Linked DNA regions of Homo sapiens: regions 1 and 3 are each linked to region 2. Evidence: promoter capture Hi-C in human tissues and cell types (Jung and others, 2019). All regions are on one chromosome and are shown on one strand. Each heading gives the region's core, a stretch centred on a gene start or on the middle of the fragment in contact. The rest is flanking DNA. Distances are from core to core; before and after follow the strand shown. Region 1 overlaps KNTC1 (kinetochore associated 1). Region 2 holds the start of HCAR2 (hydroxycarboxylic acid receptor 2). Region 3 overlaps CCDC62 (coiled-coil domain containing 62).

Region 1 (2,700 bases), core at 72-2,571, 79 kb after region 2:
CATGTTGGCCAGGCTGGTCTTGAACTCCTGGCCTCAGGTAATCTGCCCCTTGGCCTCCCAAAGTGCTGGGATTACAGGTGTGAGCCACCGTGCCCAGCCATACTTCTTTTTTTTCTGCAGTGAATATACGTTTTAGGTAATTAAAGAATAATAATTAATTTAAAAAGCAATTAATACCCAAGCATGACAATAATCAACACCTTTTAGAATTCAGTTTTTCACCTGCTTCAATATTAAAAACACCACCTTATGAGGAATGGTAATGCTGGAAAGCACCTGAGAGACCATGGGGTCCAGATCTGAAGACTAAGCCCACATTAGGCTTTGCTGCCCAGTGGCAGGGCTGAGATTAGAACTGTGGTCTCTTGATTTCTAGTTTAGAACTCTCTAACACAAAAAGTAAAATATAAAAATTACAGTTACACATAAAAATACATTTATCTCCAGAACACTAGAAAAGGCTTGTCAATTTTAAGGCCCTAGGAATATAAACAATGTCAAGTTAGAACCTAAGAACTTTCCATCAGCTTTACCTTCAGAATTTCACAGGGAGCAGTGTCTGGAGGCACAGGTTTCCCGCAGTGCTTTGAATATTCAGTTATCAAGACTGAAGCTTCATCTAAACTACAAAATCAAAAAGAAAAAGAAGTGTTAGGCCAAGCACAGTGCCTTGTGCCTACAATCCCGGCACTCAGGGAGGCCAAGATGTACAGATGGCTTGGGTCCAGGAGTTTGAGACTAGCCTGGGCAACATGGCAAAGCCCTGTCTCTACAAAAAATATAAAATTAGCCAGGTGTGGTGTTGCACACTTGTAGTCCCAGCTACTCTGGAGACTGAGGTAGGAGGATCGCTTGAACCCAGGAGGTTGGGGCAGCAGTGAGCCACGTTTGTACCACTGCACTCCAGCCTGGGTGACAAAGCAAGACCCTATTTCAAAAAGAAAAGAAAAGAAAAGAAAAAGAGGCATTGAAGTCAAAATTAAAATGTAAAGACCAATCTCTGAATTTAATGTTTTATTTGGGAAGAAATAATTCCAATTTGGGGCATATACATAGACTGGGTAGTCTCTGGATTGTCCAAAGAACAAAGAGAAGGTTAGAGGTTTTATGAAAAAGAGACATGTTACACATTGTTCTTTTTTTTCTTTTTTGTGAGACAGAGTTTCACTCTTGTTGCACAGGCTGGAGTGCAATGGTGCGATCTCGGCTCACTGCAACCTCCACCTCCTGGGTTCAAGCGATTCTCCTGCCTTAGCCTCCCGAGTAGCTGGGATTACAGGCATGCGCCACCATGCTCGGCTAACTTTTTGTATTTTTAGTAGAGACAGGGTTTCATCATGTTGGCCAGGCTGGTCTTGAACTCCTAACCTCAGGTGATCCACCCGCCTCGGCCTCCCAAAGTGCTGGGATTACAGGAGTAAGCCACTGCGCCCGGCCAGAATTATGTTTTTGGAGCAATGTTTTGTACTCTGAGTGCTTTTCCCCTGGGCCCCTCGACTCTGATGAATTTGGGTATCACAAGAATGACCTAATTCATGTAATCAACTTCACAGAGGGCATGAGGAAACTTTCAGAGAATTATGTTCACTCTCTTGATTGTGGTGATGGCTTTATAGGTATACATATGTCAAAATTTACTAAATTGCAGACTTCAAGTATGTCCAGCTTATTATATGTATCAATTATAACTCAAAAAATACTTGCTCAAAAATGACAATATCTAATTATGGCTGGATCACAAGAGATAAACAAGCAGATGGAAATCCATGGAGTGGTAATGAGAAAGAAAGACCTCTCAAGCGCCAACATGGCTAGACCACATGCAGGGATGGATCTGGTGTGTACTGCGGTCTTGAACTTCCCTTTCTTTAGTGTCAGCCCACTTCTTCCTTCTCCCGTTCAGTTTCCATATCCACCCCCAGCTCTATCCCAAGAAGCTTATTGTTTCTAAACTTGTGGGTGCTGGAAAATTAGATAACCAGGTTTAACAAAAGTGATGCTACATAAAGTCATTAATGTTCTGAGCAAGTGTCTAGACATAAAATTGTAATGTAGGATTTAGAACAGGGCTGTGAGACACTTGATTTGGGGGTTCAGATGACCTGTTTAATTGTCAGATTCTAAGGTCATATTCCAAGAAATTGGGTTATTAAATGATTAACTTTTGGATATGTGCAGTAATGAGAGATGTAATATTTTGAGCTTTTAATTACAACCAAATAGCTCTACAGTTGACATTCTGCTCCAACATAAAGATAGATTTTTTTTTTTTTGAGACAGAGTTTCGCTCCTGTTGCCCAGGCTGGAGTGCAATGGTGCGATCTCGGCTCACTGCAACCTCTGCCTCCCGGGTTGAAGAGATTCTCCTGCCTTATCCTCCCTAGTAGCTGGGATTACAGGTATGTGCCACCATGCCCGGCTAATTTTGTATTTTTAGTAGAGACAGGGTTTCTCCATGTTGGTCAGGCTGGTTTTGAACTCTCAACCTCAGGTGATCCACCCACCTCAGCTTCCCAAAGTGCTAGGATTACAGTCGTGAGCCATCGTGCCCAGCTTATAAAGATAGATTTTAAGGAAATTCCACAGTAAGTTTTTTTTTTTTTAATTAACTTACCTTAAGTCATTTGCCAAATAGTTCACTAGCTCAGTGATATTGTTGGTATTCATCGCATGCATCTTCAACATTTGAAAGTATTTGGT
Region 2 (2,700 bases), core at 53-2,552:
GCAGACGGATCACAAGGTCAGGAGTTTGAGACCAGCCTGGCCAACACAGTGAAACCTCGTCTTTACTAAAAATACAAAAAATTAGCTGGGCGTGGTGGCGCACGCCTGTAGTCCCAGATACTCAGGAGGCTGAGGCAGAAGAATTGCTTGAACCTGGGAGGCGGAGGTTGCAGTGAGCTGAGATTGTTCCACCGTTCTCCAGCCTGGGTGACAGAGTGAGACTCTGTCTCAAAAAAAAAAAATCACATCCTAAGGTCCCAAGGACATAAAACAAGTTAGAGACCTCATCCAGTTTTTTGTTTGTTTCAGGGACCTGCAACCAACTTTCTTACTGACCAGTTTCCTGGGCTGTCTAGAACAGACAGCTTATGGGGTACTAACCCCATGCTCTATCCTAAGGTACCCCTCTTCATGCAGAGCGACACAGAAAAACAAATTTGTAGCACAAAGTACACCCGATTTGCTACAGCTTACGACTAGCCTCATGAATCCTTTTTCTCATTAATTCAAAGTTTGCAAAAAAAAGAAATCACATACTTAAAAATAAATCACTTGAGCACAGAAGCATATCAAAATCTAATATAAACAAACAAAAAACCCAACTTATGTTAACATGCCACTGAAACTGGGCTCAAGTTTTCAAATGTCTTATGAAATATTACACTCTCCAGCAGGCTATTTTTTTTTTCCTAACTGGAGATGAATGGCAGAGTTCTGATATGGAAAAGCACTCCATGTTTGTACAGAAAGGTAGCATAGGAAAAGTGGTCAAATTCAACCAGTCTGTCCTCATCAAACAGGCAACTACTGTCTTCTCAGCATTTCCAAAAGAAATCATATGTCTGCTACTGTTTATGTCATATGCCTGTTAATTTTTCATGCTAATTCTTAGTGTTTCTGGAAAACCTCACTGTTTGGCACCAAAAATTGTTATTGCTATTGTTGTTGTTTTGTTAATTATGTCAGCCAAGCAGATGACGGTGAATTAATTCTGCAACGTTGAGTACTCAGTTGGCATACAAGCACCCAGCCTTCCAAAGGGATGTCCTTCATGTTTCACTGATTTTCGAATGACAGTCGGCTTGCCTAAACTTATCCTTTACATTTAAGACATTTTGTGGGTTCCCGTCTGCCCAGGGGATTCTTATTACTTGTTTATGCAAACAGCAGGTTGCATAAGAGCCTTGCTGGCTTTTTTTTTTTTTTTTTTTTTTAGAGATTTCGTAGTTTCCTGGTAACCATTCAGTCATCTATTTCAACACCCTGACATGACATAAAGGCAGGCGTGGAACCACACGTTCACCACACAGACACACACCTCCTTGCTGGAGCATTCACTAGGCGAGGCGCTCCATCGGACTCACTAGCCGCACTCATGAATCGGCACCATCTGCAGGATCACTTTCTGGAAATAGACAAGAAGAACTGCTGTGTGTTCCGAGATGACTTCATTGTCAAGGTGTTGCCGCCGGTGTTGGGGCTGGAGTTTATCTTCGGGCTTCTGGGCAATGGCCTTGCCCTGTGGATTTTCTGTTTCCACCTCAAGTCCTGGAAATCCAGCCGGATTTTCCTGTTCAACCTGGCAGTGGCTGACTTTCTACTGATCATCTGCCTGCCCTTCCTGATGGACAACTATGTGAGGCGTTGGGACTGGAAGTTTGGGGACATCCCTTGCCGGCTGATGCTCTTCATGTTGGCTATGAACCGCCAGGGCAGCATCATCTTCCTCACGGTGGTGGCGGTAGACAGGTATTTCCGGGTGGTCCATCCCCACCACGCCCTGAACAAGATCTCCAATCGGACAGCAGCCATCATCTCTTGCCTTCTGTGGGGCATCACTATTGGCCTGACAGTCCACCTCCTGAAGAAGAAGATGCCGATCCAGAATGGCGGTGCAAATTTGTGCAGCAGCTTCAGCATCTGCCATACCTTCCAGTGGCACGAAGCCATGTTCCTCCTGGAGTTCTTCCTGCCCCTGGGCATCATCCTGTTCTGCTCAGCCAGAATTATCTGGAGCCTGCGGCAGAGACAAATGGACCGGCATGCCAAGATCAAGAGAGCCATCACCTTCATCATGGTGGTGGCCATCGTCTTTGTCATCTGCTTCCTTCCCAGCGTGGTTGTGCGGATCCGCATCTTCTGGCTCCTGCACACTTCGGGCACGCAGAATTGTGAAGTGTACCGCTCGGTGGACCTGGCGTTCTTTATCACTCTCAGCTTCACCTACATGAACAGCATGCTGGACCCCGTGGTGTACTACTTCTCCAGCCCATCCTTTCCCAACTTCTTCTCCACTTTGATCAACCGCTGCCTCCAGAGGAAGATGACAGGTGAGCCAGATAATAACCGCAGCACGAGCGTCGAGCTCACAGGGGACCCCAACAAAACCAGAGGCGCTCCAGAGGCGTTAATGGCCAACTCCGGTGAGCCATGGAGCCCCTCTTATCTGGGCCCAACCTCTCCTTAAATAACCATGCCAAGAAGGGACATTGTCACCAAGAACCAGGATCTCTGGAGAAACAGTTGGGCTGTTGCATCGAGTAATGTCACTGGACTCGGCCTAAGGTTTCCTGGAACTTCCAGATTCAGAGAATGCGATTTAGGGAAACGGTGGCAGATGAGTGGGAGACTGGTTGCAAGGTGTGACCGCAGGAATCCTGGAGGAATAGAGAGTAAAGCTTCTAGGCATCTGAAACTTTT
Region 3 (2,700 bases), core at 170-2,669, 79 kb before region 2:
CATAAAATAAAAATCTATACTATTATGAATAAAGACTCATTATATTACCAAGACGTATATGAAATATCACTAAGAAATAAAAGAATGGGGCCAGGCGCGGTGGCTCACACCTGTAATCCCAGCACTTTGGGAGGCCGAGGCGGGCAGATCACGAGGTCAGGAGATCGAAACCATCCTGGCTAACACGGTGAAACCCCGTCTCTACTAAAATACAAAAAATTAGCCGGGCGTGGTGGCGGGCGCCTGTAGTCCCAGCTACTAGGGAGGCTGAGGCAGGAGAATAGTGTGAACCCGGGAGGCGGAGCTTGCAGTGAGCCGAGGTGGCACCACTGCACTCCAGCCTGGGCGACAGAACGAGACTCCGTCTCAGGAAAAAAAAAAAAAAAGAATGAAGGATATAACAAATAAACAAGCTGGCTTTCTGCACCTCTTATAAGCATGAACTCAAAAAATATCTGATGACTGACCAGTTAGAAGAGAAAACCAAAAAAATCCATCTTTTTTTTTGACAAGGAGTCTCGCTCTTTCCCCCAGGCTGGAGTGCAGTGGTGCGATCTCGGCTCACTGCAACCTCTGCCTCTCAGGTTCAATTGACTCTCCTACCTCAGCCTCCTGAGTAGTTGGGACTACAGGTGCCCACCACCACACCTGGTTAATTTTTGAATTTTTAGTAGAGACGGGGTTTCACCATGTTGGCCAGGCTGATCTCAGACTTTGGACCTCAAGTCACCGCCCACCTCGGCCTCCCAAAGTGCTGGGATTATAGGTGTGAGCCACCATGCCGGGCTCAAAAAACCAGTCTTACAGTTTTTATTCCCAATATGCCACTAACATTATGAGATAAGACACAATAATTGGCTGGGCACAGTGGCTCACACCTGTAATCCCAGCACTTTGGGAGGCTGAGGCGGGCGGATCACCTGAGGTCGGGCGTTGGAGACCAGCCTGGCCAACATGGAGAAACTCCGTCTCTACTAAAAATACAAAATTAGCTGGGCATAGTGGTGCATGCCTGTAATCCCAGCTACTCGGGGGAGTGAGGCAAGAGAATTGTTTGAACCCAGGAGGCAGAGGTTATGGTGAGCCGAGATCGTGCCATTGCACTTCAGCCTGGGCAACAAGAGTGAAACTCCATCTCAAAAAAAACACACAATAATTTAGAAAACATCATTGAGGCTACCAAAACTTGATTATACCCTCTCATCTTTGAGGAAAGCTTTCTAAAATAACTCATTGTTGATTAAATGGTAGATGCTACTAAACCAAATGGCATAACGGTTAAAAAGCGTTGTACTGAAGCTCAATCTCTAAGACAGGATAATGCCGTGCAGCTAACCAAAACTGTAGGAGAAACACAAAACTACAAGGGGTGGATGAGTGTAGATACCTTCGTACACACACGTATGCATTTTTGCATTGGTTGCTTGCTGTTGTTGTTTTTTGTTGAGATGAGGTCTCACTATGTTGCCCAGGCTGGACTTGGACTCCTGGGCCCAAGCAATGTTTCTGCCTCAGCCTCCCCAGAGGCTGGGACTACAGGCGTACACCACTGTGCTTGGCTTACATACGCTTTTTTTTTTTTTTTTTTGTCACCCAGGCTGGGGTGTAGTGGCACAATCACAGCTTACTGCAGCCTTGACCTCCTGGGCTCAAGTGATCCTCCTGCCTCAGCCTCCCAAGTAGCTGGGACCACAGCAGTGCACCCCCACACCCAGCTCATTTTTGTATTTCTTCTTTTTATAGAGACAGGCATTTGCCATGTTGCCAAGCCTGGTCGTGAATTCCTGGGCTCAAGCAATCCTCCCACCTCAGCCTCCCAAACAAAGAGCTGGGATAACAGGCATGAGCCACCAAGCCACTGTGCCCAGCCTCACATGCATTTTTAATGAAACATTTAAATCTAATTTTTCTTTTTTCTTTTTTTTTTTGAGACAGAGTTTCGCTCTTGTTGCCCGGACTGGAGTGCAATGGCGCGATCTTGGCTCACCGCAACCTCCACCTCCCGGGTTCAAACGATTCTCCTGCCTCAGCCTCCTGAGTAGCTGGGACTACAGGCGTGTGCCACCACGCCCGGCTAATTTTGTATTTTTAGTAGAGATGGGGTTTCTCCACGCTGGCCAGGCTGGTCTCGAACTCCTGACCTCAGGTGATCCACCTGCCTCGGCCTCCCAAAGTGTTGGCATTACAGGAGTGAGCCACCGTGCCCGGTCAAATCTAATTTTTCAATAACTGAAACACAAAGGGAATTTGGACTAGTGAAGCTTATCAAAAACTAATCCCAACCTCAAGGTCTTCAGAGAGAAGAGAAGAATGCGTTGCCTTTTGAGCCATTTCCTGAAGCTGTAGTTGGGTCTTTTGGAGAGCTGTTTGGCATTCCATTTGATTGGATTCAAGAGCTTTTACCTTCTTCGTGAGTGACCTGATTATTTCAGTTCTTTTATGTAGTTCACCTGAGGGAAGTTCATCAATAATTTGTAGTCACACCTTCAGCTTAAAAGGCATTATTTTCAAAATGGGTGGTTAAAAGGTAAAAATGTGGTAGAGAATTTTTAAAAAGACAATCTTCTTTTAAAACCTTTTATTATGAAATGCACAATATCACACCTAATCAAGAAACAGAACTGTGAGCAATTGGAAGCCTCTGGAGGTCACTTCCCGAACATAATCACTCCAGTTTCCGCGTTCCCAACCATGACCCTG

The links. The method cuts DNA at HindIII sites, captures the fragments that hold promoters and counts their contacts. A contact is called where the count stands out against the background at its distance.
Region 1: a contact is called between a fragment that was not itself captured here and the fragment with the promoter of HCAR2 in region 2, in 4 of the 25 tissues and cell types used here (IMR-90 fibroblasts, heart left ventricle, lymphoblastoid cells and 1 more).
Region 3: a contact is called between a fragment that was not itself captured here and the fragment with the promoter of HCAR2 in region 2, in 3 of the 25 tissues and cell types used here (H1 embryonic stem cells, mesenchymal stem cells and mesendoderm cells).

What each region holds. Positions count from the first base shown.
Region 1 is chr12:122,622,522-122,625,221 of GRCh38, reverse strand. It overlaps KNTC1 (kinetochore associated 1), which reads right to left. Exons shown (of 64, transcript NM_014708.6): 62 at 2,615-2,700; 63 at 534-624. Among named protein-coding and RNA genes, the nearest start is that of MIR9902-1, 72 kb to the left of the region's middle. The HindIII fragment of the contact is 3,781 bases long and covers 1-2,700 here.
Region 2 is chr12:122,701,959-122,704,658 of GRCh38, reverse strand. It overlaps HCAR2 (hydroxycarboxylic acid receptor 2), which reads left to right and starts at 1,302. Exons shown (of 1, transcript NM_177551.4): 1 at 1,302-2,700. The coding sequence starts at 1,376. The coding sequence ends at 2,467. The HindIII fragment of the contact is 9,565 bases long and covers 1-2,700 here.
Region 3 is chr12:122,780,914-122,783,613 of GRCh38, reverse strand. It overlaps CCDC62 (coiled-coil domain containing 62), which reads right to left. Exons shown (of 13, transcript NM_201435.5): 3 at 2,284-2,450. Among named protein-coding and RNA genes, the nearest start is that of CCDC62, 7.7 kb to the right of the region's middle. The HindIII fragment of the contact is 3,682 bases long and covers 1-2,700 here.